Regions from separate parts of the Homo sapiens genome. Here region 1 is linked to region 2. The links are contacts of gene promoters, found by promoter capture Hi-C in blood cells and fetal thymus (Javierre and others, 2016). All regions are on one chromosome and are shown on one strand. Each heading gives the region's core, a stretch centred on a gene start or on the middle of the fragment in contact. The rest is flanking DNA. Distances are from core to core; before and after follow the strand shown. Region 1 overlaps DENND5B (DENN domain containing 5B). Region 2 holds the start of BICD1 (BICD cargo adaptor 1).

What was found. The method cuts DNA at HindIII sites, captures the fragments that hold promoters and counts their contacts. A CHiCAGO score of 5 or more calls a contact.
Region 1: a contact is called between a fragment that was not itself captured here and the fragment with the promoter of BICD1 in region 2, in 1 of 17 cell types (neutrophils). The highest score is 5.1, in neutrophils.

What each region holds. Positions count from the first base shown.
Region 1 is chr12:31,569,739-31,576,973 of GRCh38, reverse strand. All of the region lies in intron 1 of DENND5B (DENN domain containing 5B), which reads left to right. Among named protein-coding and RNA genes, the nearest start is that of DENND5B-AS1, 17 kb to the left of the region's middle. RefSeq lists a silencer at 1,573-1,773 and enhancers at 5,094-5,594, 5,781-5,940. The HindIII fragment of the contact is 2,244 bases long and covers 1,716-3,959 here.
Region 2 is chr12:32,105,159-32,111,613 of GRCh38, reverse strand. BICD1 (BICD cargo adaptor 1) reads right to left here and starts at 4,767. Exons shown (of 10, transcript NM_001714.4): 1 at 4,070-4,767. The coding sequence starts at 4,282. It overlaps BICD1-AS1 (BICD1 antisense RNA 1), which reads left to right and starts at 4,152. Exons shown (of 3, transcript NR_185992.1): 1 at 4,152-4,220. RefSeq lists enhancers at 3,160-3,797, 4,325-4,404 and a silencer at 4,765-5,244. The HindIII fragment of the contact is 11,162 bases long and covers 1-5,264 here.

The DNA of each region.
Region 1 (7,235 bases), core at 1,588-4,087, 530 kb after region 2:
TATTCTTTTGACAAAAAAGTTCTTGTATCATTATGTAAAACCTCATAGTGAAAAAGCTCGCTCTTTTTTTTTTTAGAAATAAGGTCTCACTCTGCTGCCCAGGCTGGAGTGCAGTGGTGTGATCATAGCTCACTGCAGGCTTGATCTCCCAAACTCCTGGGCTCAAGTGATCCTCCTGCCTCAACCTCCTGAGAAGCTGAGACCACGGCTGTGCGCCACCATGACCAGCTAATTAAAAAAAACATTTTTTTTTTGTAGAGATGGGTTCTTGCTTTATTGCTCAAGCTGGTCTCGAACTCCTGACTTCAAGTAATCCTCCCTCCTCATCCTACAAAAGTGCTGGGATTATAGGTGTGAGCCACCACGCCTGACCTGAAAAAACTCTTGGAAATGTCTGTCTGAATCTTCCATTTACCTTCATTTCTAGCAGAAACTGGGAAATTTCTTTTTTTCTTTTTTCTTTTCTTTCTCTCTTTTCTCTGTCTCTTTCTTATCTTTCATTATTATTACTTTTTTTTGAGATGGTGTGTTGCTCTGTCTCCCAGGCTGGAGTGCAGTGGCATGATCACGGCTCACTGCAACACACTCTGTCTCCCGGGTTCAAGCGATTCTGATGCCTCAGCCTCCCGATTAGCTGGGATTACAGGCGTCTGCCACTACGCTTGGCTAATTTTTGTATTTTTTAGTAGAGACAGAGTTTCACCATGTTGGCCAGACTGGTCTGGAACTCCTGACCTCAAATGATCCACTCACCTTGGCCTCTTAAAATGCTGGGATTACAGGTGTGAGCCCCTGTGCGCGCGGCCTCATTCTTCTTTTTTTTTTTTTTTTTGGAGACAGAGCCTTGCTCTGTCACACGGGCTGGAGTGCAGTGGCACAGTCATAGCTCACTGTAACCTCAACCTCCCTGGCTCAAGCAGTCCTTCCACTTCAGCCTCTTGAGTAGCTGGGACTACAGGCATGTGCCACCATGCCTGGTTAACTTTTTTCTTTCTTTCTTTCTGTTTTTTGAGACAGTCTTGCTCTGTCTCCCAGGCTGGAGTGCAGTGGCGTGATCTTGGCTCACTGCAACCTCCGCCTCCCGTGTTCAAGTAATTCTCATGCCTCAGCCTCCCAAGTAGCTGATATTACAGGCATGTACCACCGTGCCCTGCTATGTGCCTGGTTAATTTTTAAATTTTTTTGTAGACATGGGGTCACACTGTGTTGCCCAGGCTGTCTCGAACTCCTGGACTCAAGCTATCCTGCCTGGGCCTCCCAAAGTGCTGGAATTACAGGTGTGAGCCACCACATCCAGCCTGAAACTGGGCAATTTCTTATATCTCACATCTTTTCGGGTTTAGTACCTTTTATTTCCAGTATCTGTTCAGTTTTCTTCCTCTTCCTTCTCTTGTGGTCCTTTGAGAAAACAGGGACAATCTGCTAGTCTAAGGATATTCTTTCTAGATATTAAATTTATATCAATTTTTTATTGCTGTAGATCAGGACTAAAACAGCAAAAAGGAATTGTTTCCTTTGGGCAGAGATGTGACTTGCTTTTGAAGGGGGAAGTGGGTAGTCACAATCTACTCTTACGTAATTCCCTGATGTAGTCCTCCTTTGTTACAAGAATCAGCACCAACATTATCAATTGGAATTCTATGAGAATGACATACTAACTTTAATAAGAATACATTGAGCAGTAGGAATTTATGGCTGGTTATAGGTTTAAAGCTTGTAGGTGATTTACTTTTAGAACCACAGTGTTTTCTATTTTTAGGTTAAGTTATCCTCAACTTCAACTCTAACTTTTAAGGAAATATAAATGGCTGGGGTAACAAGATAACAGATTGTTTAAAACTATTTCCTATCTCCTGTCTCAAGTGTATGTATTTTCTTAATAAATAAACTTTTGTCAGGATTTCAAAATATTCTTGCTCAGCTCGAGGAAAATGAACTTTCACACTGGACTTAACTTGTTTTGTGCCATTGTTCACCAGAACAATGACTGTGATTTCACAGTTAAAACACAGGCATTGGTACCCTTGAGGTGACTATGTGAAAATAGGTTATTTTGTTTGGTCATTCTCACTCCTGTCTGGCAGTGCTTCATTTTTTCACTGGCAGCTCTAGCTACAATCTGATTTTAATTAAATATGTGAAAGCTGTGTGTACTAGAATGTAAAATCTTGTATATTCTTCATAGTGAAGGACTGACAGGACCCGTTTACAGTGAACCACTTGTAAATCATCTTGTTTCTGGTGGATGGGGCCAATGGGGAAATAATTAAAGTATTGAGTGTATGGAGAGGATAGAAGTTGGTAGAAAACAAAAACTTAAGAACCATACTGGTGATTCCAAAATTCCCCCTCCACCTCCCTTTTATTATTTTATTTTTTATTTTGAGGCAGAGTCTCGCTCTGTCACCCAGGCTGGAGTGCGGTGACGCAATCTCAGCTCACTGCAACCTCCGCCTCCCAGGTTCAAGCGATTCTTCTGCCTCAGCCTCTCGAGTAGCTGGGACTACAGGCATGCACCAGCATGCCCAGCTAACTTTTGTATTTTTAGTAGAGACAGGGTTTTGCTGTGTTGCCCAGGTTGGTCTCGAACTCCAGACTTCAAGAGCTCCACCCGCCTTGGCCTCCCAAAGTGCTGGGATTACAGGGAGCCACCGCGCCTGGCCACCTCCCTTTTAAATTATTATTATTATTATTATTATTATTATTTTTTAGAGACAGGGTCTCATTCTCTCACCCATGCTGGAGTGCAGTGGCGCGATCACAGCTCACTGCAGCCTCGATCTCCCGGGCTCAAGTGGTTCTCTTGCCTCAGCCTTCCGAGTAGCTGGGACCACAGGCACATGCCACCACACCTGGCTAATTTTTTTTTTTATTTTTGTAGAGACAAGATCTCACCGTGTTGTCCAGGCTAGTCTCAAATGGTCCTTGCCTCAAATGGTTCTTCCACCTTGGCCTCCCACTGTTGGGATTTCAGGCATGAGCCACTGTGCCTTTTTTTTTTTTTTTAAGAGATAAAGAGTCTCCCTTTGTTGCCCAGAATGGAGCACAGTGGCTATTAACAGGCCATCATAGCTCACTACAGCCTCAACCTCCTGGGCTCAAGGGATCTTCCTGCCTCAGCCTCCTGGGATAGCTGGGACTAATGGCGTGCACCACGGTGCCTGGCCAGAATTCTCTTTATCTCTTTGATACCTCTATCACCCTCTCTGCCACTTAGAACACAAAATTTGTGGTTAGAGTAGAAGTGGTAGAGGGATAGCCAGCAAATGCCCTAGACCCCAGAGCTTCTGTAGATTTAATTGTCCATTGAAGAATCATGGAGTCATTATAAGAGTCTCTTGCACAAGTGTTGAGCCTACTTAATGAATATTGAACGAAATTACATTCACTTTTCCCTGGAATGAAATCTCTAAGCAAGAGTAAAAATTTAGCTTTTTCTGAATGTGAACATAAGGCCATGAAGTAGACATACCTTGTTGAATCATTATGGGGCAGAGGCCCAGATATGAAATGTCTGTTGACATGTATGCACATTCAGTATTTATTTCAGTGCCTTATTGAACTCTATTGAATAGGTCAGGTGACAGCTTTTATCTGAACATCAGTCTTTGAGGGACAGTTGAAGCACTGGTATATGTGTGAGCGAGAGATTGGTGTTTTTTTCAAATGTAGAAGAGGTAACTTCTTACATTTTTTGCTCTTAAAAGTATATTATTTCATAATATTCAAATTTGCCTTGGGATTTAAAGTATAAATTGTCATTTTAGTAACACAATTGAATATTTTTTAATATCTCTGAACTAATGAGATACAGTTTTCTTTCAAGTGTGGGAACTATTTTGTACCCTGTTCCCTGACCTCTGCCTTTTGACCCTGTCACTTTGTGATGAGATTATAGATAGGCCTTTGAGCTTTTCTCCAGTCTGCTCAGGTTTCCTTACACAGCAACATATAAAGCTTTAAGGTCCTTTAAAAGATGCTCTTAGAATTAAAGAGAACATTCAGATTTAATTGGCATGAGTTTCGTAAATATTTTTTCTTTAAAAAGTCTTTTTCTTCCTTAATGCTTTCCTGTCCCCCAAATCTATTTAATTATGTTTTCTAAAATGGTATATTTCGGGAGAGGCTAACAATTAGAGCTTTCTAGGATAAGGAAATCCAAGAGAGATTCAACTGTTTATTCCCTATTTGTTGTCTCTAGGTATGAGAAGTTAAAATCCAGAATTAGAGGGTGTCATACAAGAGCAGGAGATTTTTTTCAGAGAGAATCAGTGCTTTAACCTTCTTATAATAAGCACTTTTTAGATAACACCTTTTAGATACTTTTTCAGATGCCTAAAATAGAGTAGGAAGAGAAACAAGGACAGAGAAAAGGAGACTGATTTCATTGGCTATGTGTTAATAACTCGTGAGTTTTTTTTTTTTTTTTTTTTTGAGAAAGAGTAAAATTAGTGACAAAAATAAGGGCTTGGGGATTTGATATTTATTTTGTTATTGTTTTACATCCTATCTTCAAGATTATCCAGAAAATTAAGTATTTGCTTTGTTTCAGACATTTTTTAATAGGACTTTCTGAGGAATGTCTGTTTTACGCACCATCAGAAAGATTTGTAACAATGAAGCTGTAGGACTTTGGTTTGCGTGGGGGCATTCTTGCTACTTAACAATGAGTGAGGGTAAATAAAATGATTGTTTTGAAATAACAAAAGGCAATATGTGCTTTATGTGCCTTTTTTTCTTTTTTTTTTTGAGACAGAGTTTCGCTCTTGTTGCCCAGGCTGGAGTGCAGTGTTGTGATCTCGGCTCACCACAACCTCCACCTCCTGGGCTCAAGGGATTCTCCTGCTTCAGCCTCCCAAGTAGCTGGGATTACAGGCATGCGCCACCACACCTGGCTAATTTTGTATTTTTAGTTGGGATGGGGTTTTTCCATGTTGGTCAGGCTGGTCTTGAGCTCCCGACCTCACATGATCCACCTGCGCTGGCCTCCCAAAGTGCTGAGATTACAGGCATGAGCCACTGCACCTGGCCTGGCAATATGTGCTTTTAAAAAATTGTAGCTTTTGGCTGGGTACGGTGGCTCTCGCCTGTAATCCCAGCACTTTAAGAGGTCAAAGCGGGCAGATCACCTGAGGTCAGGAGTTTGAGACCAGCCTGGCCAACATGGTGAAACCCTGTCTCTACTAAAAATACACAAAAATTAGCCGGGCGTGGTGGCTCCCCAGCTACTCAGGAGGTTGAGGCAGGAGAATCGCTTGAGCCCGAGAGGTGGAGGTTGCAGTGAGCCGAGAACGTGCCATGGCACTCCAGCCTGGGCAATGAGTGAAACTCCGTCTCAAAAAAACAAAAAAAAAAATTGTGGCTTTTAAATTATTTTTCTAAAAAAGAAAGAGTGAATGGATAAAATGGAGTTTTCTAATTCAGGTGTTTACTTTTGAGAGATAGAAATTAAATCCGTAGTTCTTGCAACTTTTTTTTTTTAAACCCAAATCCTTTCTACAATTAGTAATTAAAGTGAAATGAGAAAAGAAAGAGTAGCTTTGAATCTCACTCAGTTGCTTAATGCTAAAATAATCTATTAAAATTTTTTTTTCTATGGAAAGGGGAAAACACTAGTGACAAATAAGATGGGAAGACAGGAAGAAGCTAGTTAGCAGAAGAGGCAACTCAGTGACAAGATAAACTCTTGATCTCTATCTTACTGGTCCGATTTGTGTGTTGTCACGTAGAATGAAAATATGTTTAGACGGTATAAGAAACCTCTGATGGAAAAATCTGGTTGTCTCCCTGCAGGTTGCTAAGAAAGAGTGATGTTTCAGGGAGGCTGAGTCTTGAAGCAGCAGCAGCAGATCTGACACTTGTCCTTCACAGCTCCTTTCCTGTCTCCCATAGTAAGGGCTATGTAAACATTTCATGATCAGTGCTGGCACTTGCAGCCGAGAATGCGGAGAATGCTTGCAGTTTCCCTTTTCATGCAGCAGAATGATAACAGGGACAATCTTTTGATTGTCTTATTATGTTTTGGCTTTTGTTGCTTTTAAAATTCCCAGTTTGTGTTGCTGTAAGGGAGGTAACATTTCTCACCCTTTCTGTAAATGAGTTTCCTGCCAAAACCTACCTGTGAGTTTCAAATGTTTAGACCAATCAACCAACCAAAGACCTTGAGATAACCTAAGAAGGTATAACCTAAGAAGGGACAGTTACACAGTAATTGGGAAAACTTCTGCAAGGACAGATGTGCATTTCTCATTTTCTTTAAACCTATCAATTTACTGAAAATGAATATGATTTTTGTTAATAATGACAGTGCCAAAAAAAATTACTAAAATCTTTTTGAGTAAATGAAACCAAACTCCTAAAAAAAGAAAACTTTTTTTTTTTTTTTAAAGAGAATTTTGGCTGGGTGCAGTGGCTCACGCCTGTAATCCCAGCACTTTGGGAGGCCGAGGCGGGTGGATCACGAGGTCAGGAGATCGAGACCATCCTGGCTAACATGGTAAAACCCTGTCTCTACTAAAAATACAAAAATTAGCCGGGTGTGGTGGCGGGCGCCTGTAGTCTCAGCCACTCGGGAGGCTGAGGCAGGAGAATGGTGGGTGAACCCAGGAGGCGGAGCTTGTAGTGAGCCAAAGTCGTGCCACTGCACTCCAGCCTGGGCAACAGAGTGAGACTCCGTCTCTTAAAAAAAAAAAAAAAGAGAGAGAATTTTGATTAGTTCTTATCTGGAGATATATTGCTTATAATTTTTTTCTCTTGGTTTTTTTGTTTGTTTGTTTTTGAGATGGAGTATTGCTGTGTCACCCAGGCTGGAGTGCAGTGTTGGCGATCTTGGCTCACTGCAACCTCCACCTCCCGGGTTCCAGTGATTCTCCTGCCTCAGCCTCCTGAGTAGCTGGGATTACAGGCACCCGCCACCATGCCCAGCTAATTTTTTGTATTTTTAGTAGAGATGGGGTTTCATCGTGTTAGCCAGGATGGTCTCGATCTCCTGACCTTTTGATCTGCCTGCCTCAGCCTCCCAAAGTGTTGGGATTACAGGCATGAGCCACCGCACCAGGCCATTTTTTGGTAATTTTTTAGAATGAGTTGAATTGAGATGAATTTTAGTTGTTCCTAAGTACTGTGTACTGTGACTGGCAGTGGCTCTTAACTGTTATTTTTTGAGACAGAGTCTCACTCTGTTGCCCAGGCTGGAATGCAGTGACACAATCATGGCTCACTGCAACCTCTGCCTC
Region 2 (6,455 bases), core at 3,518-6,017:
AATAAAATAAAAAAATAAAAACAATGAGAGAAGTTAAAAATCATAGTTCAGATAGATCAATTAAGTATTAACTGTCTCTTTATGTTTATTCATAGATTGGAAAAGAAATCTGGGGTTTTTCTTGCCATATGATTTTGTGATTTAGAACTTAAAGATATAAAAGAAACTAACAATCTTTCTAAGCATCTGAAGGGAAAACAATTCTGCTTAAAGATGAATCTAGGTAATTTAAGTGGCATTCATCAGGTCACCAATGTGACAAGCTCTAAAACTGTGTAAGTACATATTTTTGTGTTGAATGATTTAACTATAACCCTGAAAAAGAATAGAGTTGGCTCCAAAAGAAAAAGCTGCCCAATGTCCAGAAAGTGCTTCTTCAGCAGCTGGTAACTATCCTTGGTGTCAGGGTTGACAAAATAAGCAAGAAAATGGGTTGAAGCTCATTAGTGCATAGTTTACGGTATCCAAGCTGCAAAACTTTTCTAAAGCTGTCTCACAGATACATTTCCTTTTTAAAATGCCATCAGTAATGCTGAATCATTCCTTTCTAAGGGGCTCTTTTTCAACTTTACAACATTTTAAATTTCAACCATTTTTAAGTTAAAAAAAAACTCTTTTTTTTTATTATTATACTTTAAGTTTTAGGGTACATGTGCACAACGTGCAGATTAGTTACATATGTATACATGTGCCATGCTGGTGTGCTGCACCCATTAACTCGTCATTTAGCATTAGGTATATCTCCTAATGCTATCCATCCCCCCTCCCCCCACCCCACAACAGTCCCCAGAGTGTGATGTTCCCCTTCCTGTGTCCATGTGTTCTCATTGTTCAATTCCCATCTATGAGTGAGAACATGCGGTGTAAAAAAAACTCTTAAGTTTAGATCCAAGGTATTTTTATATATGTATATTTTTAGTTTTCAGGTTATTTTGGAGCTATGACTCTTCTTCAAACACTATTCTGGCCTGGGTGACAGGCGCACAGTGCTGATTTACGTACATCCCAAACATATAATCAGCCAGGCCCTGAACATAACTGGGCATGGGTGACCCTCACTCAGGTCACTGAAGAGCAAGTGTTACTTGTGAAATCACAAAACCAGACTCAAGTATTCTAGTGGACATACTGCTCTGTCCAGCTGCCCAAAGAATCATGAAAAGGAGAACACTTTGATGATGTCAGAAGTCATCCTTTTTTCAAATCCTTAGTACTATTCTTTCAAGTGTGTTCTTCTGTGAGCTGAATTACAGTAGTCCATGCAGAGCACTAAACAACATCAGGCCAGGTCAAAAAACAATTGAGTTGAGGGAAGAAATAACTAGGAAAAAAATTTAATGAATTTCATCTTCTTGATTTTGCACATCTTTAGGCAACACTGCCGACTTGCATTATTGTCACAGCAGTACCTAGCCTGGGAAGGAAGGTAGCAACATTGGTGGGTACTGACTCTGGAAAACAAAATGATCTGCAAAGACTGAGCCATGTTGCTATACTGCAAATTACTAATGTCCAATTTGGACTTAATACAGTAGTTTTCTGTTGACATTCCCATAAACTGGTTCAATTATTTTTAAATAAATCATATTTGTTCAAAAATCCTAGAAATAAGCAAAGATTTATTTTATGCTTGGCTTTATAGATATAATGCAACATCATTTACTATACATACCTGATGAGCAAAACTTTCTTTTGAAAAATCAAAACACTCACAAAATATTTTTCAAAACTGAGGTGTTGGAACACCTCAGTTTGCACAATTATTTTGGATTTACTTTTCATACAAGAAATGTTACTTGAAATCAATTTAACTCATTTAAGTTATATTTCCAACTAAAGTATATTCTATGTTTAAAGAATAAAAATAATAGGCCTCACTATCAAATAATCAACTATAATAATTTTATTACCTAAAATACATTTTTATATAACTGTATAAACCAGTTTTTTAGGAATCTCGAATTTCACTTATGCTAAATGCAACTGAAAATAAATATATGAACAAGAATCGTTTAGTAAAAATAATGCTGGTAAATTTTTATTAACCTCCTGCTATATAGAACAAAATATATATTAAAATATTTATAGAAAAAATTTTAGTTGGTATTTGCATTATTCTGTATTAAGAAACCACAGTTACATTATTCCTACAAAACGTTTTTTTCACATTTTTCTCATTACTGCTGGTGAAACTAATACAGGTAGTTTTATTAACATCTGTCACTTCCTATACATCCTAATTTTCTTAGTATTTATCTAACACTAATCAATATTGACTAGTGAACCCTTGATAAAAGTGTGCCTTCTTCTAGTACAAACTGATTCTTTCATAAAATATTTCATGCCCACTGTGTGCTAGCTTTTGTGTTAAAGACTTGGGATGCAAAGCTCATGGTGTAGCAAAGGCAAAACACAATTGCATTAAGGTTTGCTATGCAAGGTAAGTGCAATGACAGAAATATCCCTAGAAGGATTGTTTAAATCAAGCAGCAAAGTCAGTAAGAGGTACATTTCATTAAATTAAGTCCATCTCCTTTATCAAGAAGGTGATGGCTTACCACTTTCTGGTTTGCACTTCCCTATCTTGGCAAAGCAGTGTTGATAGGTATAGACAATATCAAAACATCTCTGAGAATGACAGTCATCATCCTGCTTCCTCACTTCACAAGGTTTAGCATCACTGCATTTAAACATGTCAGCCTAATCTAAGTTGGAAAATATAAACAAGTCCAGCTGTTGTTAAGACCAGACAGGTACATGGTAAGTAAAATAGGAACCAGAAATTTACAGCCTGACACACAAAAATTAGATTCCTAGTTGGGATTTTTAATCATAGGTAGTACATTTATTTTTTGGTAGACAGGCATCCAAATAAAAATAAGACATATCTAAAAGTATAAATGCTTACCATATTACACACTAAATTGGAAGGCAAGTTGATTCAGTATGTCATAAATCACATCTTTTAACTGTAACAGCATAAAATAAATAATAGATTTTTGATATTATATGCCAAACAATAATTAACATTTAAATGTCAATATGCACCTAAAAATAAGGACTTGACACACAGAAAAGGAGTGTATATTACATTTAAATTTGTAAGTGGTTATTTGCTACCCATAGTGCCTCAAGAATCAGATAAAAAAGACCGAGTTACTTAAACAATATGTATGTTCTTAAGAGTGACTGATAGGAAATCAAAGCACGTTCATTGTTTTCTCCCATACATCCGACAGGCTTTAAAAGAGGCCAAATACCAAAAAACTAAAGAGACATTATACATCACCCATTTTTGATATTCTGGTTTTATAAATATATCATTTCAACCAGAAGAGCCTCATTTGAAATGCAACACTACCCACGTATTTGATATACACCACTCTTTCAGACTATTTGTAGGTGAGTTCAATTTTTTCTAGTCAGGGTGACCTCATAAGACTTGGACATGGCCCAGCCTCGCTCCGAGGTGAAATCAAGGCAGTGGGATCACCCAGCAAAGTTGTTTTTCTTCTGCAGCCCAATGACAAGAATGACTAAAGCCAAGCAGAATGAAGATTGCCTAGCCTTTGTCAAATGGGATTGGTGAGGAGTTCCCTCTCTCACCAAGGAGTGGTTACATCCAGAGGAAAGCTGAGGTGCCACACAGTCTAAATCCTGAAATTGTGGGTCCTCAGGCACAAACCTCATCACTTTTGTGGACTACGAAATTGTCGCTGAAACCTGGGTTTGAGATAACAGCGGTTTTGAGAAGTTTGATTTATACATTCCAACCCACTTGAATGTCGTCTTAGAGTGCTGAGACTTGATGACTCTTACTAATCTCCCTCCCCCGCAGGCCAAACAGCCATTGCCTCCCAAATTCCAGCTTATATATTCATTTCTTAGGCAATTTTTCTCTTGGGGGAGGAAACAATGGACTCTTTCAATCTTCTCTTACCAACAAAGGGCCCTAGAAGAAAAAACAGTCCTTTCAATCACCTCCTTTATGACTTCTTGATCATGATGAGTGGGCCTTGCGGGTGGGGGGAGTGAGGGCCAGGAAAGGGAGAGGTGACAGGCAACTCACCTCTTTGAGCTGCTCCAGCTCCTGTTTGAGGCTGTCGTACTCAGCCTCCAGTTCATCATACTGCTGTTTGAGGGTCAGCTTCTCCTCCAGCACCACCAGCCCGTACTCGGCAGCCTGGATCTTCTCGTGGGTGGTCTCCGTGAGCTCCTTGGTTAGCCTCTCTATCTCAGTCTTATAATGGTCCACCGTCTGCAATACCTCTTCTGCGGCCATAGCCCCGGTGGATGGAGGCAGGAGGGGGTTACGGGGTGGGGGAGATGGATGCGAAGCTGGCGGGGAAAGGGAGAAGGAAATGGGAAGGGATGGGTGGAAACGGAAAAGAAAGTGCGGCCGGATGAATGAGCAGCGCGATGCCCCGCCGGCTCTGGTGGCAGCGGCAGCTACACCGCCCGAGAAACTGACGAGAAATGCAACATGGAGAACAGGGCAGAGGGTCAGGGGCGAGGCGGCAAAGGCCGCCGCATGTGTCCTCGGGGCCGGCCCCTGCGTGCGGTCAGCAGCCGTGCGGCATGGCCCGGGCTGCGGCGGCCGCGGGTAGCGAGGGGCTCCGGATTCTGCTTATTCAGAGACGCCCGTCCGCCATGTCTCCCGGGCCGCGTCACTGCAGTCTCGCCCTGGGTCTGGCGCGCTCCGGCTCGCGGCTCGCTCTCTCGCTCCACCTGCTCCCTCTGGCCCTGCAGCAGCCGGTGCGGAATGATGCAGTCTCGGGGCCGGCTCCCTCCCTTCCCGCGTGGCGGCGGCTCCGAGCAGGGGGCGGGGAGCGGATGGAGTCAGCGCGGGGGGCGGAGGGAAGGACCAGACGGAAACATCCCGAGGCGCCTCCCGCCGGGCGCGCGGGCCGCCGCCCGCTGCACCGTGAGGCGCGCCAGGAGGAGGCGCAGGCGACGGGTCTGGGACTGGGAAGCGGTGGGGCGCGCGCGGCGGGGGAGCCTCCGCCCTGTCCGGCTCGCGGGGGCGGGAGCTCCTCCCAGGGCTTTGTCCCGGTGGCAGTAGAAGACCCCGAGAGCGGCGTGGGCGCCCGGGCTCTTTTGCTACGTCGAGGGCCGAAGCTCAGGAAACTGCCTGGAACGCTTTCTCCCGAGAAAAGCAAACAAAACTATCGCGGTCGCGGTCCGCGCATCCTCCTCGTCCCCTGGGCGCGCAGAAGGCTTTTTGGGCCACCTGCCCCCAAAAGACCGCTGGGTTTCCCAAAGCTTTCAAGACGCACCCCAAGGCGCCCTCCTCCGTCGTCCCCCTCTCTCCCTGCCTCTCCCAAGTCTGGCCTGGGCCACCTAACACTCTCACCAGATAACCTTACTATCCTCACAGGACAGTCCGCTAAATATTGCTCGCCCTCACCCAGCGTATCACAAGAGCGCTATCCACTCAGAAAAAAAATATCTCCACAATACATGCACCCAGGAAACCTCTAGCTAGGTACTGTATATCTTGCCCCAATAGTTTCCATCAAAGCACCTTACTCTGTGTCTTCAATAAAGGAAAACTGCTTGAAATTCCCTATATAAGATACCAACGATGCCCTGTAATAAGCATTTTTTAAACAATAAGAGCTAAGAGTTCTTGAGACCCATACCAAGCATTCTTCTAAGTATGTAACATGCGTTCTCTCCAATCCTAACAATGCTTTGAGGTAAGAGCCATTATCCTCAGTTTACAGGGGGTGAAAGGCAAAGGGAGATGTGATTTGTCCAAAGTCAGGCAACTCTGGAATCTTAACTCGGGAGCACTAAACGGGATCATTATGTTGGCTTCAGGTTCACTCATTACTCATACAAACCCAGCAACTACATATTACATGCTTTTAAGATAATCACATTAATCCATATGAAGAGTGATGATGAACGGTTACAAAAGGAGGTGAAAGCAAAGTAAGAGTGGAGTAAATGAAAGAGTGGAGAAGGGTCGAGAATCAAGAGGAAGAACGCAACATGAGAGAAAAGAAGCAATTTCTGTGTAACGGGAGGCTGTGAGACCCACAGATCAGTGGGTCTTTCCAGTTCCCTCTCTTCTTCTGCATGGCACCTATTCCAGAGCTGTTTCTCAGTGACCAGGTGATGAACACACATGCGTTTTCTAAGTTAGAAAGCAGGACTCAACTCTCCCATCATTGTGTACCTGGTAAAAAAAAAAAAAAAAAAAAAAAAGATGATTGTTGACCGGGCACAGTGGCTCACGCCTATAATCCCAGCACTTTGGGAGGCAGAAGTGGATGGATCATTTGAGGTCCGGAGTTCAAGACTAGCCTGGCCCACATGGTGAAATCCCATCTCTACTAAAAATACAAAAATTAGCCAGGTATGGTGGTGCACGCCTGTGATCCCAGCTACTTGGGAGGCTGAGGCAGGAGAATTGCTTGAATCCAGGAGGTGGAGGGTACAGATGGCAC